2 separate regions of the Homo sapiens genome follow, and region 1 is linked to region 2. The links are contacts of gene promoters, found by promoter capture Hi-C in blood cells and fetal thymus (Javierre and others, 2016). All regions are on one chromosome and are shown on one strand. Each heading gives the region's core, a stretch centred on a gene start or on the middle of the fragment in contact. The rest is flanking DNA. Distances are from core to core; before and after follow the strand shown. Region 1 overlaps SLC6A3 (solute carrier family 6 member 3). Region 2 holds the start of TERLR1 (TERT regulating lncRNA 1).

Evidence for each region. Contacts are between HindIII fragments. The CHiCAGO score rates a contact against its expected background, and 5 or more counts as called.
Region 1: a fragment that was not itself captured here is called in contact with the fragment with the promoter of TERLR1 in region 2 in 2 of 17 cell types (non-activated CD4 T cells and total CD4 T cells); the score reaches 5.4 in non-activated CD4 T cells.

The regions. Positions count from the first base shown.
Region 1 is chr5:1,412,038-1,419,223 of GRCh38, forward strand. It overlaps SLC6A3 (solute carrier family 6 member 3), which reads right to left. Exons shown (of 15, transcript NM_001044.5): 7 at 4,061-4,164; 8 at 2,654-2,778. Among named protein-coding and RNA genes, the nearest start is that of SLC6A3, 30 kb to the right of the region's middle. RefSeq lists enhancers at 523-1,023, 2,730-3,702, 3,703-4,675. The HindIII fragment of the contact is 5,653 bases long and covers 197-5,849 here.
Region 2 is chr5:1,176,975-1,183,980 of GRCh38, forward strand. TERLR1 (TERT regulating lncRNA 1) reads right to left here and starts at 1,631. Exons shown (of 5, transcript NR_109911.1): 1 at 1,464-1,631. LOC124900189 reads right to left here and starts at 5,873. Exons shown (of 8, transcript XM_047417960.1): 1 at 5,669-5,873; 2 at 2,400-3,237; 3 at 1,464-2,305; 4 at 1,074-1,280. The coding sequence starts at 2,832. The coding sequence ends at 1,785. The HindIII fragment of the contact is 15,637 bases long and covers 1-7,006 here.

The DNA of each region.
Region 1 (7,186 bases), core at 1,773-4,272, 240 kb after region 2:
ACACACAAATCACACACGTCCACACTATTTAGTAGCCTAATTTCTAAAATTAGCAAAACATTTAGGGATACATTCCTGACCTCCGCCTTCCAGGCACATGAGGAAGCTGAGGTCCTCCCACCCTCCCGTGAGGTTAGACGTGGCTGCACTTGGCCAATGTGCTGTGAACCCACAGTGAGCGGGTCCCTGCGAGTGAAGCTTGGTAGAGGAGTGTGTGGCTCCTTCACCACCTCCCCTGCCACGGGGTCCCGCAGGCCATATTGAGACAGGCTCCTGTCAGCTGGGGCCCTGAGGGCTCAGAGGAGCAGCACATCCTGATGGATACAGGGGCCCAGATGGTGGCTTCGGAGATAAGAGACAAACCTGCTACCTTGCTATCCCTGCAAGCGAGGGGCACGCCAGGCTGAGGGCGGCATGGCAAAGGCGGAGGAGGTGTTCCCCCACAGCTCTCTCGGGAAACGACACGTGCTTCCTGCTACCAGCAGGCAGACTCGGATGGAGGTGGAGGGGACGAGAGTGTGGCAGGCAGGCGACCAAAAGTCAACGCAGTTTGGTCTCTGATGACCCCAAAGTAAAAACCAGTCCCATAGGCAATTGACCTTTGACCAGTTCAGAAGCCTTGCATCCTCCACTGGCTGGCACCATCTCCCAAGCCCAATCTGCCTGCAACAGAGTCCCCTGTCCTCAGCAGGCACGTGTCTGGCCCTAGCCTGCAGGAATAGGCCTGCGCCTGGCCTTTTAAATAATCAAAGGCCAGAGCCAGGGGCCGTTCCTAAAGGTCTTTCAGGGGCCTCACTATCAGCCAAGCAGCGGGGTCAGACCTGGGCTCTCGCAGCTCCCAGATACCCTGGTGGATGGGGACAGCCTCCGCGTGGGGTGGGGGAGGCAGGCTCGCCTGAGATGTTCCGGGGCTTAGATGGTACCAGCCAGGAGCCTGGGAAGATATTCATCAGCTCAGGGAATGTAATGTCAACACCCGTGCCTTCGTTTCTGTACCTAAGTTAACATTTCACCCTATTTTCTTGAGAATTAAGGCTGTAAATGACATTTACTTTGCTTGTCATGAAATGCACAGAAGAACATTCAACTTTATTTTCAGGGGTTAATAGAGGTTTTTGCAAACTATGCTCGTTATCATAATAAAGGGCAAAAAGAATGAAGAAAAGGCATAAATGCGGCACCGAGTAAATTTCACTGCTCTGCATTTATTTGCAGATGTTCCCTTTCTCCCGCTTTGACTGAATTTTTTTTCCTAGTGGAAAGAACATGGGCTTAGGAGGCCCACCTCTGAGCTGTGGCTCCAGCCCCGACCCTGGCTTTCTGTTGCAAGCATGGAGTGGGCCCTTTCAGGTCTCTGAGCGTGTTCCTACCTGCGGTGCGAGGGTCCTAGTGCCCCACTCTGTGAGACTCAGGTGCGGTCAAGGCTGCCCCCGCTTGGTGCTTGTCGCTCCCCGCCTTCACTGAGCCTCAACACCCAGGCAGAGATCAGTCAGCAACAACACCCACACGGGACAGGGGCTTTTCTGAGCACAATCATTCCTCACAAATGTAGTGCCCCCACCCCACCCCCGGAGAAGACAGTCCAGAGGAAGCAAGGATGGGGACGCAGCATGGGAGCCCACCCAACCCAGGCCCGTGTCTGGAGCGAAAGGGCCTCCTCCACATCCATGTGGCAGAGCAGGCCGGGAGGCAGGCGGGGGCTCTGCTGGCTGACAGAGACCGAGAAGCCTTGGGACTCCCTGGAGCTCTCGGTTGGCCCAAGTTAGGGCTGCCAACGCCACAGCTTTCCACTGCAAGCACCGGAGCCAGGCACGTGGCCCCAAGTGCCTGGGCCCACTCTCAGCCCCTGCATCTGTGCCCGTCCTGCCGGCTCCATCCTGCCTGGCACACTTCTTGCTGTGGCCAAGGCCTCCCCCCACCACTCACCTGTGCCTGCCCGAGACCTGGACCCCTCCCCACCCTCTCGGAGACAACTCCAGGCGTGCAGGGACACTCAGCGTCATGCGTCGGCCTGGGGAGCGGGCAGGGACACCCTGTGCTGGAGGCCCCAGGGATCTCCCGGCTGCTCTGTGGCCAAGCTGATGTTTGCGGCATCCCAGCCTGCCTCCAGGTGTTGCTGGAACAGCTCATTCCTCCCCTTCCCTGAGCTGCATGTTCCCACACCGCGTGGCAAGCAAACATCTAGAGGGCCCTCAGTGACAGCATCTACGCCAGACCCTGGTGGGGCAGCCTCATGTGGCATCTGCAGGGAGCAGTCGAGGGACTGAGGCACCAACTATGCTGCTCAGCTGCATTTGGGCTTGAGGTTCCCCAGCCCAGGGTGGAGGCCCCGAGAGGCACAAGGCAGGAAAGGCACTGGGTGGGGGGGCCTGGAGGGGCAGGGCGGAGAAGGCACTGGGTGGGGGGCCGGGAGGGGCAGGGCGGGGAAGGCGCTGGGTGGGGGGCCTGGAGGGTCAGGGCGGGGAAGGCGCTGGGTGGGGGCAGGTCTGTACTGGGATGTGTACCACCATCCTTCAAGAGTGAGGCAGCAACTCTCACTGAAGTCGCTCAGGGCCCATGCGTCTCCTTCCTCTTTCACAAGGAAAAAGGCTTTGCTGAGAGCTCGGCGCTGGTGCTACACGGAGCAGGCCCAGGTGCAGCAGGAGGGGCTCACCGTCCTTGGCCACGTCCCCGATGGGCACACTGTGCTTCTGTGCCATGTACCCCAGGAAGGAGAAGACGACGAAGCCGGAGGAGAAGCTCGTCAGGGAGTTGATGGAGGTGGTGACAATCGCGTCCCTGTAAGAACAAGACACGCCGTCTCAGGAACCAGCTGAGCTGCAGCAGCTGCAATTTTCCAGTCATTATTCTTAATTTACTGTGTCTGGGGAAGGGGGCGGGAGGTCTTCGGAGGGGCTACTTTTCCCAGTGAGCACGGCCAGCTCCTTAGCAGCCTGGCAGAGCTGTCCTTGGGCCACCTTGGTCCCCTAGCTGAGCTGCTCAAGGCTCAGCCATCAAGGCTCAGGGTGGGCAGAACAGACGGCCACCCCTGTGCCCCGCGAGTCTTGCTGTGGACACCTCACCCAGGGCAGATCTTCCAGAAGCTCTAGGAGCACACACCTCCCGGGGACCTCGCTAAGATGCAGATCCTGACTGGGCGGGTCTCATGGGGTCTCGGGGGCTGTGTTTCCCATGAACTCCCAAGGGCGCTGGTGCTGCGGGCCTGGGGGCCCCACTCTGAGGGCTGAGAAACCAGAGAGCTGGAGGCAAGCCGAGGACGAAGAGGGAGGGTCCTGGGGTCGGTCAGGGCACCAGCGTCCTCCTCCTGGGTTCCTGTGTGGCCTGTCACTGGGGTGGAAGGACCACACACTTCATCTGCAGAGCACCTGGACCCAGGTGGACGCAGGTGGGCTGCGGGCAGGCGCTGCCTCAGGACCTGCCTTCCAGCGCCCACTCTCAGTGAAGCCTGCTTGTGGTCTGCCTGGCCATTCTGCTGCACACACTGTCCTTGTATTTTTACCGTGTTTCTAGCCTCATGATGTGAAAGAAAGTAAGCACAAGTCCATAAAGGTCAAAGCAAGCAGATCCCGGATAAAATTCTGTTTCTGTTTTTAGAAGGATTTGGGGTCCGGCACGGGGCTTCAGGTGCCTGCCAGTAAGTAACACGGGGTGCATATGGGATGGGGGGACACACTCAGGGGGTTGTGAAGCTGGACCCTGAGCGAGGGAGGACAGAGACCCCCCGGGGCTGGTGTGAGGGAAGAGGGTGTGTCCTTGTGGAGGGAGGGGCTGGCCTTGCCACTTGGGGCCCTCAGTGGGGAATCTGGCCGCAGGTCAAACCTAGGCAGGTCCCTCCCAGGAGGCGACACACCCACTGGCTTCAGTGCCTTCTTTAAAGTTGAAATCAAAATCGTGTTGGGAGCTGCCTCGCTGTCGCTTCTGTCTGAAAGGCCACGCAGCTCACAGGTTTGCGGGTTCAGTGGATCCGCCCTGTTCTCATCCAGGGACACCCTATTTCTGGAAGTCAGCGACCTCTCCCTAGTATTGATGAGGCCCCTGCCTGGCCCTGCTAGGGGCTCACCTGTAGCAGTTGTTGGTGAACTTGTTGTAGCTGGAGAAGGCGATCAGCACCCCGAACCCCACGCCCAGGGAGAAGCACACCTGGGTGGCCGCGTCAATCCAAACCTGCAGAGCCAGAGGGCGGTGAGAGGCTGTCCCAGGAGAACGCAGGCCACAGGCAAAGGACCTGAGCACCCTTCCTGTCCCAGCCCCACACTGAGGCCTCTAAACTCAACACCATCCTCAAGAAGTAAATGGCAGCAGACGACTGGTGGAAGATGCAGCCTCAGGAAGTGAACCCTCCCGGGCCAGCGGCCTGGAAGAGCCTGAGAAGCAGGGGGCTGTCTGTGTTCATTGATCTGGGATTCCCCATGGAGTATCAAGGCAGCGATTCCACAGAACCAGAGGTGCCCTGCTCCATAGCCCTCAGAACAGCATGGACTCATCCACACACGGCATGACCACAGCATCCTAATAACCCTCGGAACAGCACGGCCTCATCTACACAAAACATGACCACAGTGTCCTAATAACCCTTAGAACAGCACGGACTCACCCACACACAGCATGACCTCAGCGTCCTAATAGCCCTCAGAACAGCACGGACTCATCCACACACGGCATGACCGCAGCGTCCTAATAGCCCTCGGAACAGCACGGACTCATCCACACACAACATGACCGCAGCGTCCTAATAGCCCTCAGAAGAGCACGGACTCATCCACACACAACATGACCGCAGCGTCCTAATAGCCCTCGGAACAGCACGGCCTCATCCACACATGACATGACCGCAGCGTCCTAACAACCCTCGGAACAGCACAGATTCATCCACATGCTGCATAATGGTGGCACCCTGATAACCCTCAGAAAGTCATGAACTCATCCACACACAACATGACCGCGGCGCCCTGATAACCCTCAGAACAGCATGGACTTATCCACACTCACACCAGCCCTAGCGGGGTCTCCATCCTCCCTTGATCAGGGTCCAGCTTCACAACCCCCTGAGTGTGTCCCCCCATCCCATGTGCGCCCTGCTGCATGATGGCAGTGCCCTGAAACCCTCAGAACAGCACAGACTCAACCACAGGCTACATGATGGCGGCTTCCTGATAACCCTCAGAACATCATGGATCATCCACAAGCTGCATGATGGCGGCACCCTGATAACCCTCAGAACAACATAAACTCATCCTGAGGCTACATGATGGTGGCGCCCTGACAACCCTCAGAACAGCATGGATCATCCACATGCTGCATGATGGCAGCACCCTGATAACCCTCAGAAAGGCATGGACCCATCCACATGCTACATGATGATGGTGTCCTGATTGGACGCACACCAGCAATGCCTGCTTTGTATCCTTCCCAAAACATGAGCAGTACAGGTGCACAGTGGCACCTGGGCATGGCCAGGAGCCCACCTGCAGCTTAGACACTGGTGCTGTGCCTGCCCAACTCGGTGGATGGCACCCACAACTCTGGACGTGAAAGGAAAGGTGGGTGGGTCCACGATTGGACCATTGTGGTATTTTAAAAAGTCAGCCACAACCTGCTAAGGTGAGGGCACTGCGGAGACCATTCAGTGACTCAGATGCCCACCTTGCCCTTCCCTGGGCCTTGGATGGGGGAGAAGGAGCAGCCAACCCCCCCTTGGAGGCATTTGAGGGACTGGTCAGTTAGGGCTGTTCCTGCAAGTCCCTGGAGCCCATGGTACAGGCCTGTGGGCCAGGATGCTGAGGCAGAGACACCAGATGCTCCTGCTGGGGAGGCCAGGTGGGTCTCAGGGCATCCCAGGTCCCAGGTCAAGCTTGCCTGAGCTTGACTGAGCAAGGGAACTGGGTGCTGCAGAGGGGGCGGGGCCCTCTGTCCTTTGGGCAGCATGTCAGAGCCTCAAGGCAACCCCAGTTCCTGGGACAGTGTGTTTGGAGGCAGATGGCCAGGCCCCGCAGTCAGGACTCTGCAGGTGGCCAGTGTTTCAGCATGAGGGGAGGAGCCAAGCCGAGAGTGGCTGGGTGGGCAGTGGGTGGAGAGGCTCATACCCTGATGTGGCTCCCATGCTGGTCATCAGCCACCTGCCTGGCCAGGTAGCTGCAGGCTGGATCAGGTGTCACAGGGGAGCGCCTGCCTCCTCCTCACCCTGATCTGTGTGTGCAGCTCAGGCCTCTGCCCAGTGCCACACCAGAGCCAGTGCCCATGGCTGCCTCCCTGGGCCTCACCTCATGCACTTTCACTCCAGGACCTGCAATTGTCCTTTCCTTCCATTTCTTTCCTGATTTCTCTTCACTATACATCAATCCATCATCTATTATCTATCAATCAATCATCTATCTATCTATCATCTATCACTGTCATCTATCAATCCATCACCAATCTATCATCTATCTGTCATCTCTATAATCTATCAACTGTCTATCATCTATGAATATATGAAGTACATGTGTGTGTATGTATCTATCTCCATCCATCCTATTGTATATCCATCCTATCTACCTACCTATCATCCATCCATCCACCCATCCATCATCCATCCATCCACCCATCCATCATCGATCCATCCATCCATGCTATCCAGCTACCTATCATTCATCCATCCACCCATCTGTCCATCATCCACCAATCCACCCATCATCCATCCATCCATCCATCCACCCACCCATCCATCATCCATCCATCCATCCATGCTGTCCAGCTACCTACCTATCATTCATCCATCCACCCAAACATCCATCATCCAGCAATCCACCCATCATCCATCCACCCACCCGTCATCCATCCATTATCCATCCATCCATCCATCCTATCTAGCTACCTACCTATCATTCATCCACCCATTCACCCATCCATCATCCATTCATCATCCATCCATCCATCCATCCATGCTATCCAGCTACCTACCTATCATTCATCCATCCACCCAGCCATCCATCATCCAGCAATCCACCCATCATCCATCCACCCATCCATCCCATCCATCATCCATCCATTATCCATCTGTCCATCCTATCTAGCTACCTATCATTCATCCACCCATTCACCCATGCATCATCCATTCATCCATCCATCCATCCATCCATCATCCATCCATCCATACTATCCAGCTACCTACCTATCATCCATTCCTCCATCCACCCATCCATTATCC
Region 2 (7,006 bases), core at 381-2,880:
ACAAACCCTAATGGGGGCTCCGGAGCACTTGCTGGAGTCCCGTCCCCCCTTGTGGAGTGCATGTTCACTGCAAAGGATCTGCGCTTTCATTACTCTGTTATTTGTCGTTTTGTGAGTTTTGCTCAATTCTTTGTTCAACATGCCAGGAACATGGACTCACAGTCAGGACCTCCCTTCCGGTAGCACACCCAGTAGGGCCTCCAGCCCACCCACAGCGTGGCTCCCACCGCCCCCGGGGTTGCCCACGGCGGGGATCCCACCACCCCTCGGGCCGCCCATGGCAGGGCTCCCACTGCCCACCAGCGCCAAGCCCTTCTGCTCAGGTCGCCTGCTCCTGAGTGGCGGGGACACGGCTCTGGGATCCTATGGCCACAGATCCGTTCCTCACCCCTTTGCTGTAAAATGCGTTTCTTGGTCAGGAACATCGTGTGGGAAATTATAACATCTGAATAAGGCGTTCGGAAAGACTGTGGGCGACAGTGCTGAAGACAGCCCTGGAGTAAGGGATGGTGACAAGTCCCAGACAAGCACCCACCCCAGAGAGAATAGCTCTGCTCTCCCCACCGTAGAAAAGCCCAGTTTTGGCCGGGCGCGGTGGCTCATGTCTGTAATCCCAGCACTTTGAGAAGGCCAAGGCGGGCAGATCACGAGGTCAGGAGTTCGAGACAGCCTGACCAACATGGTGAAACCCTGTCTCTACTAAAAATACAAAAATTAGCCGGGCGTGGTGGCTGGCACCTGTAATCCCAGCTACTCAGGAGGCTGAGGCAGGAGAATCACTTGAACCCGGGAGGTGGATGTTGCAGTGAGCCGAGATCCTGCCATTGTACTCCAGCCTGGGTGACAGAGCGAGACTCTGTCTCAAAAAAAAAAAGAAAAAGAAGAGCCCAGTTTCCATTGGCCGCCACCGTGGCTGCGCCCTGCAGTGACGCTGTGACCAGAGCCACCTCCATGAGAGAAAACGCTTGCTGGGGAGCCCTCGTGTTCTCCCCAGTGCCACTGTGGCCACCCATCCCCAAGCTCTCGCAGGAAGGATGGGGCAGCTGGGAAGGCAGCATATTGTCCATTCTCACATGGAGAGCCCCAGTGCCCGGGATGGTCCTCAGTGAGCATTCACAGGGCGCGGCGTCCTCCAGCCGTGAGCATTGGATAGGCTGATGTACACCTCTGCCCCGACCACCCTGCCACGCCTTTCCACGGGTGCTCCTCCCTCCTTGATGGTCTCGTCAAACAGCGGCCGTCCACGAGTCAGCGTGCATCCATGCCTCTGGCCGTCTCTCCTCCAGTGGAGGCGAGCAACTCACTTAGTGTGGACATCCTGCCTCCCAGGGCATGTCCCTTCCCCAGCACCTTCAGGACCACCCGTGCCTGGGATGTGGGCCCACAAGCTGCCGCAGCCACACAAAAGCCACCCAGACACCGAGGGGCAAGTAGCACCAGTGCATTGGCAGCCTGCAGCTCACCTGCTGAGCGGGTCAGGATGTGACACGGGCGGTCACTGGAAGGCAGAGGGGCCCCCCAGCCTTGAGCCTCCTTCGCGGTAAGTGGTGCAGGGGCAGCCATTTCTCTTTCACTTCTCACTGTCTCCAGAACAGGAGAAATATCCGGAGCTCAGGCCTGTGTGTGTTTGTGAGGCCAGAGGTCAGTGAAGCCTCACAAACTCAGGATGTGCTCCTCCTAACCCTCATGTCTCCTCCTCTTCCTCCTCCTCACCCGTCCCCTCCTCGTTCCTCCCACTGGGATATCAGAGTCAGAGAGCTACAGGGGTAGAAGGGATGTGGGGGTCACACGGGCGTCCGCTCGAGCCCTGCCTGGGCGCTGGAGGAGGGCCTGGCCATGTTTTCTTTCCTAGAAACTCTCATTTGATCCTCCGAAGGGAGAGAAGGGACGGGAAGGAACAGAGGCCTTGGGTGTCGGCCTAATTCAGTCCCAAGGCCACCCCCACCTGCCATCCTTGGGGCCACTGGTGACTCCACATTGCAGAGCAGCTGCTGGCTGAGGCTGGGCTTGGCGGTGCTCACGTGCCTGGGGTGTGAAAGCTGCACGCAGCCCTCATCTGGCCAGGTCCCCGGCTCCGACTCACACCGTGCTTGGCCAGTGTTTAACTCACACAGCGTGATGCTCTCCACTTCATGCCTGGGGACGGACGTCACTCCTATTCCATGTCTTGTCTTTCCACAGGACTCACGTACGGACTCACATGGCTTTGTGTGCAAAAGACGACTACACGGTCGTAAACGAGGCGGCCCACCCCAGCTCTCCCTCAGGTGAGGCTCAGCTGGGGGCAGACCAGGCCAGCCACGTCCTGCAGGGCGAGAGGCACCCGGCCCGCTGGAGTCCCACGCAGCCCTGACATGCCCAGGACCCTGCTCACCCCACACCCTCGCTCGGGCACCCACCCCCTGCCTGCAGTGGGGGCTTTCCCTGGGGCCTCAAGACTGCAGGAGAGGCAGGCGGGGCCTGTGGGGTTGTGTTTCTTCTCTCCAGAGTTCCTGAGTCCGGAGCACATAGGCAGAAGGAGCTGCTCCCCATGTTCCCAGGGCTGCTCCTGCAGGGGCTCAGGAGTGGGGACCGGGGGGTTTTGTCAGAGCAAGTCCCCAGGGGCCAGGCCCAGTCATCTCGCTCCAGGCAGCCTGGGCCTGGGGCCCTGACCACTTGCCCCGCACGACTCAGGGCCCCCTCCGCACCTGGACACGGGCCCCACAGGCCACGCTCAGGCCACCCCAGGGTCAGGAACACAAGGCTACGCTGGGAAGTGCCAGCGTCTCGCACATAGAATTGGTGTTGCTTCTCTCTTCTCAATATCCACCCCGAATACCCCATTTTCCACATTTCCTATATTAAACTGTATTATTTTGTAGTTAGAAAAAAGTTTTATTTCTAAAGATGGCAGCTTCTGTCTCTGTACCCGTGGAGTTAGAATCAGGAAGAGAATGTGGCTCCCGTCGCGTGGCACCTGTGGTCAGGGTGGGGGCACCCAGCTATAAGCCACATCATTCGTGTTCAGTCCCTGTCAGTTTCATGAGAAGTGGCAGCCGAGAGGGCAGCCCGGGAGGTGCCACCCGAGCTGACGGTGACACCACGGTGATGCCTGGCTGAGCTCAGGGCGGCAGCACACCCCTCCTCGGGACCGCCTGTGTGGGTGTCCCCTGTAAGGTGGCATTGCCTGGGCCCCCGCCAGGCCACAGTTTTCCAAAGACTCCAGGGCTTGGCTGCTGCATCCAGCTGCAAAGAGGCCTGCTGGGAAAAGAGCTGATGCCACAGGGAAGAAACGCGACCCCCACGGGCCCTGCTGGCCTCTCCAAGGCCCCGACCACTGGACGCAGAGGAAGCCGGCCTTGCGTCAGGGTGAGATGGATGGAGACGGCCACGGGCAGTGCTGCCCCCAGCGGGGCGCGCCTCACCCTGGACTGTGGGGTCCTCTCCACAGGCAGCGCTGCCCCCAGCGGGGCGCGCCTCACCCTGGACTGTGGGGTCCTCTCCAGAGCCGCCCATCTGGTCCTGAGACTTGGCCCAAGGCTTTGGGTCCACAGCCTGGCTCTAAGGAAAGCCTGTGCCAGGCCTTGGGGAACCCATTGCCGAGCAGTCACAGAAAGCTCCCGGGGTCCCCGGGGCCCATCTCAGTGAAGCCTGAGGCGGGGGATGGGGGTGGGGAGCAGGGCCCTTCCCGCTGGAGCCTGGAGCCTGTGCCTCTGGGTCCCCTGTGGGGTGGGGGCCTCATAGCCATGCTCCCAGGGTGGGATGCAGCGCCCTCCCCGCTGGAGCCTGGAGCCTGTGCCTCTGAGGCCCCTGTGGGGTGGGGGCCTCACAGCCATGCATCCAGGTGCCTGGTTCTTCCCCCATGGAGCTTGTCATAGGTACGGCTGGTGTGCCAGAGTCTGAGGCCCTCTGTCCCGAGAGCCGTCGTTCTCCAGGCTCTAGGTACCAGACCTCCATCTGTGACTCCCCCAGGCGCCCACACTTTCCTGGCTCTCCTCCGCCCCCGACCCCATCTGCTGGGGCCCTGGCAGCCCTTCCACGTCTGCTCCTCCTTCCTCCTCCCCACAGAAGCCCTAGGGATGGTCCCAAAGCCAGGCCGAGTGTGTGACACCGTCTCCAGCTCCCACGTGCTCAGGGTCGGGGCGGGCTCAGCGGGGTGTCTGGCTGCTGCCTCTCACCCCTTCCCTCCTTCGGAAACACGGCACTGGGCCTGACATCCACCATACGGGACAGTGGCTGGGCTTCTCTGGCCAGACCGAGGGGCCGCCCCTGCTGGCACTACGGGAGGTCACCCTGCAACACCCCGGATGCAGGGAGGATGCCCCCAAAGGAGCCCCCTTCTCCTTCTGAGGCTTCTGAGGAGCCCGGGGCTCAGCGCAGCTATAACCCCTTAGAATCCCCCGCTCCTCGGAGCCCCTGCCACCTCCCCGGGCTTTTCCCAAACACTGCCTGCTCATGGTGGGCTCTGGGACCTTCTGGAAAAGAGGTAGCCCTTGTCTTTTCAGTGCTTCAGAGGCCGTGCTAGTTCTTTGCCAACACACGGGCAGGAAGAGTTGAGTGGCGTCCAAGGGCCGGAAAAGCCGAGCCCCTCCCCAGTCCTGGCCTTGAAGGCTGCTCTGTTCCTGAGCTGGGCACAGAAGCTGCAGTGACTCAGGGTCCACCGTGGGGTCGGGCCTCACCCTGGGCCCAGGTGAGCCAGAAGGGACAGCGCTTTGAGGGCTGACCTCACGCAGGTCCCCGGGCCAGGGAGAGGCCGCACCTGCGCCTGGGTGGTGGAGGGGAAGGGAGGAGGGGCTGCTCCCACTCTGAGCAGGCTCTGGAGGAGGATCAGGACAGGCCCTAAGGCGCTGTTTCTCCCCCACCCCATGGCCTTGGGAGAGGGTCTGCCCCACTCCCTCTTCTCTCCCATGACCTCTGACCCTCAGCCCCTCCTTCCTTTGGGCCATGCTGGCTAGTAGGCTCCTCCCATGTCCACAGCGGTGGCTCCGCGCTGCCCCTTGGACTTCCCCGAAGTGACCCTGACCCCTGGACCTTGGCCACCCCTCCCAGGCCACACCCCGACCTGGTCCCTCCAAGTGTCCACCAAACCCTGGAAGGGAAACACTGCACGCCTGTGCCCTGGGGGCCGGGGTCTGCCCAGAATGCCTTCTCTTCCTTGCTCCTTTCACTAAATGTTCTTTTCTTTTCTTTTTATTTATTTATTTATTTATTTTTGAGACAGAGTCTCGCTGTGTCGCCAGGCTGGAGTGCAGTGGCGCAATCTCAGCTCACTGCAACCTCCGCCTCCTGGGTCCAAGTGATTCTCCTGCCTCAGCCTCCCTAAGAGGAGCTGGGACTACAGGCGTGCGCCACCACATGCAGCTAGCTTTTGTGTCTTTAGTAGAGACGGGGTTTCACCATGTTGGCCAGGATGGTCTCGATCTCTTGACCTTGTGATCCACCCGCCTCAGCCCCCGAAAGTGCTGGGATTACAGGTGTGAGCCACTGCGCCTGGCCTGAATGTTCTTTTCAGGACCACTCAGGCCTCCAGCCCCAGGCGCCCAAGAGGTTTACCTGTTTCCCACCCAGGAGCCCCCACCCTGCGTGTCCTCTGACAGCTGTGGGGACCTCACTTCAAACGGGCTTCAAGGGAGGCCCCAGCACTGTGTCTTACCTCAGGCTGAGGTCTTACCTCAGCCTCAGGTCTTACCTCAGCCTCCCTCCCGGCCCGTCCATCTCAGGTCCCCTCAGCGCCCCCGGCAGATGTGCCTGAGAACCTTGCTGAAGGGGTGCCAGGGTCGGGGACTCCGGGACTCACAGCCAGAAGAACTCTCCCTGCACCCCGCTGCCCCGAGGAAGGGCGTCCAAGCCCTGCCTCTCCCAAGGCCCACCTCTCAGGGGCAGCGGATCGGAATGGGGCACCCACCCGGGGAGGCCCTGTGCTCCCGATTAGATTATCAACACCACACAGTTCACCTTTGCTCGGCTGCGCTGCTGTTGGTTGAGGAAAAGCAAAGAGGAGTTACATTTTAACATTTGTGATAGCGCAGCTAGCAGCTCGCAGCTCCTGCAGACAGCTGCTGGGGGGAGGGTGCCCAGGGAGTCCACGCTGGCTCCAATAAACCCGGCTCCCAGAGACGTGTGTCCTGTCGCCAGGCCTGCTCGCCCCAGAGAGGCTGTGGGGCACAGTGAGAAACGTCTCCGGCGTGATTGCTATTGGTGAACTGTGAGTTTCGTTCACCTGCTAAAAATGTTCCCCCAAACAATGTTTCCTTGGAAGCACTTCCATTTCAAAATACAGCTGCAAAGTGCCTTGCTTGGCCCGTGAAGGTCAATGAGCCCGCAGAAGGGGCAGAGACAAAAGGGTTTTTAATAACGCTCCTTGCTGTCAGCAGCAGCACAGGCTCTGTAGACAAGTCAGGCTTTGTTCCCGGCAGTCCGCTGTCATTACATGGGGCAGCTCCATAAAGATACCAAGGCCAGCTCTGAGGCCAGGGTGCAGACTCCAGATGCACAGATGCTGGGCCGGGGATGCCCCTCACCTGGACAGGAGGACAAAATCCCCAGGAGCCCTGGACGGGGGTGGGGCAGGAATGGGGTAAACCACATGCAGCATCCAGCACCCGGCACCCGGCACCCAGAACCCAGCACCCGGCACTGTGCTCAGTAAGGCCTGGAGGACACCAGGGCCGGCCCCAGGGAAGAGGGGGAGAGCAGGTGGCTCCGTGGTCAGGGCTGGGCAGAGGCAGGAAGGGGCAGGGCCAGCGGCCTTTGGGTAACAGCGAAGCTCCTCCTTGCTTGGTTTTCAAGCTCTGAGACCCCTCAGGGGCTGCTGCAGGGGGTGAGGGAGGGGCAAGAAGGGGCATGAGGGGGAAATAGGAGACGTAAGGGGAGCTCACTTCTCCCCCAACCCTTTCCAGGGCAGCAGACCCCCTCTGGCCAGCGGTGTGTGCTCCACCTCCACCTAAGGCTTCCAGTCTGGGCTGCTAAATGGGGAGCCCCTGTCCCCACCCCGGGCGCAGCCCCAGGCTCCCGATAGGCTGGCAAG